Linked DNA regions of Homo sapiens: all the other regions are linked to region 3. Evidence: promoter capture Hi-C in human tissues and cell types (Jung and others, 2019). All regions are on one chromosome and are shown on one strand. The core of a region is centred on a gene start or on the middle of the fragment in contact, and the rest is flanking DNA. Distances in the headings are between cores, read along the strand shown. Region 1 overlaps DBF4B (DBF4B-CDC7 kinase regulatory subunit). Region 2 overlaps GJC1 (gap junction protein gamma 1). Region 3 holds the start of PLCD3 (phospholipase C delta 3).

Region 1 (2,700 bases), core at 166-2,665, 380 kb before region 3:
CCATTCCCTCGTTCGTTCATTCAGCACAGGCCTTGCCGTCTGCCCTGAGTCAGCTCCGAGACACCTGAAGAGCCCTCCAGCCCTAACTACTTTACTCAGACTAGGTCCCCAGGCCTTTGTTCTTGCCTCTTCTCGCTGAGCCTTTCACTTCTCGGCAGATGTGACCGATTGGTAGCTCCACCCCAACTCCCTTCTGCTGGGTGGAATGCAGGAGCTAGCTGCCTCCAACTCACTGTGACCTCAGAAAAATGCCTTTATTACTCGGGCCTCAGTTTCCTCGTCTTTAAGTAAGGGGCTTGGATGAGATGATTTCAGGACCCTTTCCAATAATAAAATACTGTGACTGCCAGCAAATCTTTTATGTCTTTCCCTATCCTGCCACCAGCAGGAGTGCTGTATACCCGAGCACTCCTTCTCATCCTGGATCTTGGCTCCCCTTCCCAGGGGAGTTTCAGCTGTGCCCAGCTCAAACTGTTTTCTTGATCTAAAAAATGGAGGTAATCTAGGCTGGGCACGGTGGCTCACGCCTGTAATCCCTGCACTTTGGGAGGCTGAGGCGGGCGGATCATTTGAGGTCAGGAGTTCGAGACCAGCCTGGCCAACATAGTGAAACCCCATCTCTACTAAAAATACAAAAGTTAGCCGGGCATGCTGGCATGCCTGTAATCCCAGCTACTCGGGAGGCTGAGGCAGGAGAATCACTTGAACCTGGGAGGCAGAGGTTGCAGTGAGCCGAGATTGTGCCACTGCACTCCAGCCTGGGCAACAGGGCGAGACTGTCTCGAAAATAAATAAATAAATAAATAAATACGAAAAATGGAGATAATCATAGTTGCTACCTCGCTAGGAAATCACAAGAGTGAAATCAGATGTGTTTGTGAGGTATGTGGCACAGAGCTTGGCACATTGTCTCAACAAATAACATATTACCCACAGGCACACATGCCTGTGAGGCCTCCCTCCTAAACTTACATAAAGCTTATTCTCACTAATTCCCACCTGGCAGTGTCCCTTGGTAACTGGCGTCCTCATCTCGGGTGAGCATTTGTGGATGAAGCTGCTGAGGGGCACTGTGAGACCCCCTGTCCCAGGCCCCCTCCCAAGGGCCCTCTCCTGAGCTCCAGGAGGATCCCTTTTGTGGAAAAGAAGTGGCACTTGGGCCCTTATGGGTGTGACTGTATTTGTGCCCCACAGACCTCCCAAAGGATGAGTGTGCCTGGGATCCTGGTGCCCCAGGTGCCCCCAACTCCTCCCTTGGTGAAGCCTGAGAGCTTCAGAGATTAAAAGAGGGGCCACTTGGACGCCTGAGAGGGAGGAGCATGAGGTTTCCCGGGAGAGCTATGCAGATGAGAAGAACGGTCCTTGGACCCTGGGCTGGCATCTAAGAGGAAGCAGGATGAACTTCCTGTCCAAATGCTAGGCACTTCCCCTGCTGCCACCCCTCCACATCACGACATCAGGCACAGGTTCTCTCTGTGCTGGGTAGAGAGAGGACCCCGAGGACCCCAAGCCATAGAGAGGCCTGGGGTCCTGGGCAAGGGCCAGGGAGCCGGTTTGCTCCTCGGCGCCTTGGACGGTGCGAGCCCAGGGTGACTGAGCCCCTTTCATGTGCCAGACGCTGCTCCAAGCATGGGCAGCTCAGCCATCATCCCCGAGAGGAGCACTGTGAGGGGGGTGGTTTTCTAACCCCTGTGTCGTGGATGAGGAAACCAAGGCCCAGAGAGGCCAGCGGGCTTGCTCAAGGTCACACAGCCAGTTTGTGGGGGAGGCAGGATTGGGACCCCAGCCTGGAGACCTGAATCCTGCCCCCTTGACTAGCATGGTCTGTGCTGCAGGACTTAAGGCTGGTCACCAGGCCTGGACGGCCTCCACTGGCAGGAATCACTGCCGGTGGTATCACCCCAGGGCTGGGGGCAACCAGGACCTCTCCCTTACCTGGAGTTGCGGAGACAAGGTCTTGGCCCTGCATCCCCAACTTGGCCCTTATGCAGGAAAATTTGAGAGAACCGGCTAAAGAGCTAGAAGAGCAGCAGAAGGAAGGAGGCTCCGGCCTCCTAGGGAAGGGGCTTCCTAAGGGAGGCCAGAGACCCACCCCTCAGGGCCCCACAGCTCCCTCAGCAAGAGCAACCCCAAGAGTGGCATCAGGGCAGCAGAAATAGTGGCCCCAGCCTCAATGGATGGACCGAAGGAGCCAGCCATAGCTATGAAGTTGAGGTGGGGCCCCCCAGGGAACCCTATGTTTGAGGGGGAGACACAGGCCTGCCCCGATCTAAGCAGAAAACAGCCCTTGCTATCAGGGTCAGGTCTGATGAGGAGGACAAGCCCTGCTCTTCTGAAGTCCCAGTCTGATGAAGGGCCACCAATGAGAAAACAGACAGCCCTGACCTCAGGAGGGACGGTGGGTGAAAGAACGTGAAGCAAGCTTTCTGTGTGGGGATCCCACAGCTCCTAAGAGAGCTGAGGCAAGCATGAGACAGGGGAGGTGGAACCTCAGGGACTGGGGACTGTGATCAAGGGAGAGGCAAGAGGTCTAGCCGAGGCCGGGTGCCAGGGTTCACAGATGTAATCTAATCCCAGCACTTTGGGAGGCTGAGGCTGGAGGATCACTTGAGTTCAAGAGTTCGAGACTGGCCTGGGCAACATAAAAAGACCCCCGTCTCTACAAAAAGAAATTTTGTTAGCCAAGCATCGGCCTCATGC
Region 2 (2,700 bases), core at 86-2,585, 320 kb before region 3:
CTGCAATTCATGGTAGCCCATAATTCAAAAGGATTCACTCACACAAAGAAAACCCAAATACTGAAGAAAATCAAGTTTGCTTATATAACATTTATTAGACAGAAACCAAATGTGCTATTTTTAGTCTATTTTCCAAATAACTTAGACACAAATCTACCTTGTCTTACACTAGAAAACAGAATTTAAAAAAATTAGCTGGCATCAACATGGTAATAAATTATGTAATTCTCTCTCAAATTCTTATCTCAAGAGTTTTCTATAGGTTATATCCAAACAGACTCAAATTAACACTGTTTTTCTGTAAAACATAATTCAGTTTGTTTTGTTTTGTTTTTGGTTTTCTGAGACAGAGTGTCGCTCTGTCGCCCAGGCTGGAGTGCAATGGCGAAGTCTCAGCTCACTGCAACCTCTGCCTCCGGGGTTCAAGCAATTCTCCTGCCTCAGTCAGCTTCTCGAGTAGCTGGGATTACAGGCACTCGCCACCAGGCCTGGCTAATTTTTCTATTTTTAGTAGAGATGAGGTTTCACCTTGTTATCCAGGCTGGTCTCGAACTCCTGACTTAACTGATCCCTCTGCCTCGGCCTCCCAACGTGCTGGGATTACAGGTGTGAGCTACCGCGCCCAGCCGAATTAATAGGATTTTTGAAGATCAAATGTAATGAACATTATTTGAATTATTTCAGCAGGTAGATTCTAATATTAAACTCATTTTAAAGATGAGGAAATCAGGTTTAAAAATTTATAATTTGCCTGCCAGGCGCAGTGGTTCACGTCTGTAATCCCAGCACTTTGGGAGGCCAAGGCGGGCGGATCACCTGAAGTCAGGAGTTCGAGACCAGCCTGACCAAGATGGAGAAACCTGCCTCTACTAAAAATACAAAATTAGCCAGGCGTGGTGGTGCATGCCTGTAATCCCAGCTACTCAGGAGGCTGAGACAGAATTGCTTGAACCCAGGAGGCGGTGGTTGCAGTGAGCTGAGATCGTGCCATTGCACTCCAGCCTGGGCAACAAGAGCAAAAGTCTGTCTCAAAAAAAACCCACAAAAAACAAATAACTTTATTATTTGCCTAAAATCATCTACTTATTAAGTAGTGAAGCCAGAATTTGAAGTCAGGCAGTCTTGCACTAGAGTTTGGACTCTTTCTTGACCACTCGCTAGTAAAGAATTACATTACAGATGGAATTATGTACAGGTTCTATGTGACCCTAATCCCAGTCTTTAGGATCAGAACTGCAAAAGAAAAGCACAAGGCCAGGCACGGTGGCTCATGCCTGTAATCCCAGCACTTTGGGAGGCTGAGGCGGGCGGATCACCTGAAGTCAGGAGTTCGAGACCAGCCTGACCAAGATGGAGAAACCCTGTCTCTACTAAAAATACAATATTAGCCAGGCGTGATGGTGCATGCCTGTAATCCTAGTTACTCAGGAGGCTGAGGCAGGAGAATCGCTTGAACTCAGGAGGGGGAGGTTGTGGTGAGCTGAGATTGTGCCATTGCACTCCAGCCTGGGCAACAAGAGTGAAACTCCATCTCAAAAAAACCCAAAAACCAAAAAACTTTATTATTTGCCTAAAATCATCTACTTATTAAGTAGCAAAGCCAGAATTTGAAGTCAGGCAGTCTTGCACTGGAGTTTGGGCTCTTTCTTGACCACTCGCTAGTAAAGAATTACATTACCAATGGAATTATGTACAGGTTCTATGTGACCCTAATCCCAATCTTCAGGATCAGAACAACAAAAGAAAAAGCACAAGGCCAGGCGCGGTGGCTCATGCCTGTAATCCCAGCACTTTGGGAGGCCGAGGTGGGCGGATCAGCTAAAATCAGGAGTTTGAGACCAGCCTGGCCACCATGGTGAAACCCCATCTCTACTAAAAATAGAAAAATTAGCCAGGCGTGGTGGTGGGCACCTGTAATCCCAGCTACTCGGGAGGCTGAGACTGGAGAATCACTTGAACCCAGGAGGCAGAGGTTGCAGTGAGCTGAGATTGCGCCATTGCACTCCAGCCTGGGCGACAAGAGCGAAACTCTGTCTCAAAAAAACAAACAAACAAACAAAAAAATGCACAAACACCAGAAAGAAAATACATTTCAGAGTTTAAGATCTTAAAATGTAAAATGGAATGAAAGTTTAAAAGTAAAATAAAACAGAACAAGCTTTCTTGGTAGCTGGGGAGGAAGGAATAAACGGTATCTTTGACAAAAATGATTTATTTATTTAAGGAGGACAATTTATTTGGGCATTGAGAATAGGGAGACCACAAAACAACTATTAACCCAAGAAATCACTTCCACATATATCTTTGGAAAAGTCTCTAATAGTCTCATGTTAAAAAAAAAAAAAAAGGCCAGGCATGGTGGCTCACATCTGTAATCCTAGCACTTTGGGAGGCTGAGGCGGGCGGATCCCAAGGTCAGTTCAAGACCAGCCTGGCCAACATGGTGAAACCCAGTCTCTACTAAAAATACAAAAATTAGCCAGGCCTGGGCTACTGTAATCCCAGCTACTCAGGAGGCTGAGGCAGGAGAATTGCTTCAACCCGGAAGGCAGAGGTTGCAGTGAGCCGAGATTGTACCACTGCACTCCAGCCTGGGCAAGAGAGCAAAAGAGCAAAACTCCATCTGGGGGTGTGGGGCGGGAAGAAGCTGGCTGGGCGTGGTGGCTGACTCCTGTAATACCAGCACTTTGGGAGGCTGAG
Region 3 (2,700 bases), core at 139-2,638:
CCTATGTCTCAGTAACCAGAGTGCCAGGCACAGCGCCCAGACATAGTCAGCGCTCAGGTGGAATGAGTCGAGGTAACAAGAAGGCAAAACTGGCAATCAGGACCCCTGAATTCTGCCCCAAGTTCTACACGGGGTCCCTGGCAGCCTTGTCCTTCTGTTCCGGAGTTCCACACCTAGCCTCTCCATCACTGACTATTCTACCAATGGCAGGTCCAACGCAGCACTTCAGTGGCGCGGTCCTTTCCACGTCAGACAACATTCTCGCACACACCCTCTCATTCAAGCCCTCCACTGCCCTGCGGGTCCCACTTTTCCCAGACTCTGAGAGGGTACCAGGGCCCATGTGGTGGGGCACCACCGGGGTGCCAGTCACACTTTGCCCTTTGTTGGCTGTGTGGTCATAGGCAAATTCCTTGCCGTCTCTGAGTCAGTTTCCTCACTTGTGAAATGAGGATTCACCTCCCACCTAGGAAGTCGAGGAAGATTGCAAGACACCACCTGTGTAACCCACCCAGTGCCAGCTGCCTCTGTGATGTTCCAATGAGCCACAGTTACATTCCTTCTCCACGACTGACTTCCCCAAATCTGAGGTGAGAGCCTTGGCTGTCGGACGTAGGCTGTTAGACCAGTCCTGCCAGAGCAGTGTGGCTGTGGCCGCCTCTGTGGGGCCGCGGCTTGGAGGGCTGCTGTGGAGGCCAGCCTCTTCTGCGGAGGCCGACCGCAAACTCGCATCCTTCCTAAGGGCTGCCAAGACCCCGAGACACCCTGGCAGAACCTAGATACTGCTGGGGAGCCGGACGAGGGACACCCCAAGCCTCCCTCTCCCGCTCCATTCTCCTTGGAGACCCCACCAGCGCCCCGTGCCCGAATTCGCGCTTCAGACGCCCCGCGAGCGCCCCCTGGTGGGAAGCAAAGAACACCCTGGGCGCCCGGCTCGCCCCGGGACCCTCGGATGACCCCAGGTGCGACCCCCAGCTGGAGGGAGCTGGCCCTCCGCCCCTAGCCATAGCCTCCCAGCCCCGTGCAGCCTGGGGAATCCACGAACTGCTCCCTGGAGCGCCCCAGACTGGGCCTCTGGGAACGGTCCGCGCCCACCCCACCGCCCCTTGCCCGTCACTGACCCATCTTCTTCAGCGCCCGCAGCCCGGGCCTCTTGGTGCCGCCATCGGAGGGAGTCGGCGGGGACGGGAGAGCGACCGGCGCCGCGACTTGGGCTGCGACCTGGGCGGCCACCGGGGGCTCCTCGGGCGGGCGGCGGCAACGCCTCCAGCGGCCGCACAGCATGGCTTGGCGGGGGGCCGGGGCCGGGCCCGGGGTCTGCACGCGGGGACAGGGCAGCGGGGCGCCGCTCTGGCCCGGCCCCGGCTCTGAGCGAGGCGGCGAGCGAAGAAACTTAGCGGCGCGGGAGGGAGTCGGAGGAGGCAGCAGGAGGTGGGGCGGGGCGGGGCGGGAAGGGAAGGGGGCGGGGCCGGGGCGGTGCGAGGGCGGGGCCAGGCGGTGGCCTGGAAGCCCGGAGCCTCAGCGCTCGCCCCTGCTCGTGAGTCCGTCTCCCCTTAGTCCGGGCGAGCCTCTGATCTTGGCCGCAAGGGTGACTAGAGCCCCCATGCTGCGGGGCTGGGGGTGGGAGCCGGCACCGGGGACGAGGGCCATCCTCTGGCACAGACACCCTCTCCTTCCCGGGGGCCCTGACTCGAGGCTGACGCAGGACCCCCTCCTCCTTCCCTTCCGCGTCCCCGTCGCGCCGCAGGCCTCAGCAGGGAACCAGAGCCGGGACAGGACGCAGGGCCGGGAGCGAAGGCAGAACCCCGGGAGCTGAGCCGCTCGGGGCAGCGCGAACCCGAAGGGATGGGCATGGGGGTGGGGAGGTTGGCAGTGACGTCATAGGATTAACCTCCCTGTGCCAGGCCAGGTGCTGCCCCCTCGGAGAGCCACAGTCTCGGAGCTGACGGACCTGGGGAGCGTGAGGCGGAGCCGAGCCTGGAGTCCCCAGCAACTGGTTCTGGGTTCGAGGCTTGGACAGGCCGGCACCCCAGCCCGGCACCCGCGGTGTAGTTGTCCGCGACGTCAACCCGTGGGTGGGCATCCGTGTGCAGGTTCTGGTGGCCGAGTCGGGTGTGCACTTACTATTTATATGCAAGCACCAGAGTGCGTGCGCGAAGTGGGGGACGTCCAGGTGGCAGCGTTTCTGCGGCCGGTGGCCTGGGTCCGGCAGAGACATGGGCGCACACCGCCACTTTGCGGCGGCCAGCGGCGTGGCATCCTACAGAGAGGCTAGTGCTCAGGGCCTGATTTGCCACCTACTTGCCCTGCTCTACCCCATCCTCAGATCTCCCAGGCCCAGAGATTCTGCACACTGGCTTGGGTCCCTACGCCACTCTGGGGTCCTGAATTTTCTTTTTTTTTTTTTTTTTTTTTTTTTTTTTGAGACGGAGTCTCGCTCCGTCGCCCAGGCTGGAGTGCAGTGGCGGGATCTCGGCTCACTGCAAGCTCCGCCTCCCGGGTTCACGCCATTCTCCTGCCTCAGCCTCCCAAGTAGCTGGGACTACAGGCGCCCGCCACTACGCCCGGCTAATTTTTTGTATTTTTAGTAGAGACGGGGTTTCACCGTTTTAGCCGGGATGGTCTCGATCTCCTGACCTCGTGATCCGCCCGCCTCGGCCTCCCAAAGTGCTGGGATTACAGGCGTGAGCCACCGCGCCC

The links. Contacts are between HindIII fragments. The study calls those that stand out against the background at their distance.
Region 1: a contact is called between a fragment that was not itself captured here and the fragment with the promoter of PLCD3 in region 3, in 1 of the 25 tissues and cell types used here (lymphoblastoid cells).
Region 2: a contact is called between a fragment that was not itself captured here and the fragment with the promoter of PLCD3 in region 3, in 1 of the 25 tissues and cell types used here (aorta).

The regions. Positions count from the first base shown.
Region 1 is chr17:44,751,916-44,754,615 of GRCh38, forward strand. It overlaps DBF4B (DBF4B-CDC7 kinase regulatory subunit), which reads left to right. Exons shown (of 14, transcript NM_145663.3): 14 at 1-349. Among named protein-coding and RNA genes, the nearest start is that of ADAM11, 5.7 kb to the right of the region's middle. RefSeq lists an enhancer at 1,145-1,645. The HindIII fragment of the contact is 3,429 bases long and covers 1-2,700 here.
Region 2 is chr17:44,816,177-44,818,876 of GRCh38, forward strand. The region is part of intron 1 of GJC1 (gap junction protein gamma 1); the gene reads right to left. Among named protein-coding and RNA genes, the nearest start is that of GJC1, 13 kb to the right of the region's middle. The HindIII fragment of the contact is 9,186 bases long and covers 1-2,700 here.
Region 3 is chr17:45,131,127-45,133,826 of GRCh38, forward strand. PLCD3 (phospholipase C delta 3) reads right to left here and starts at 1,389. Exons shown (of 15, transcript NM_133373.5): 1 at 1,122-1,389. The coding sequence starts at 1,284. It also overlaps a transcript of ACBD4 not described here. RefSeq lists silencers at 1,193-1,322, 1,423-1,642 and an enhancer at 2,113-2,182. The HindIII fragment of the contact is 27,952 bases long and covers 1-2,700 here.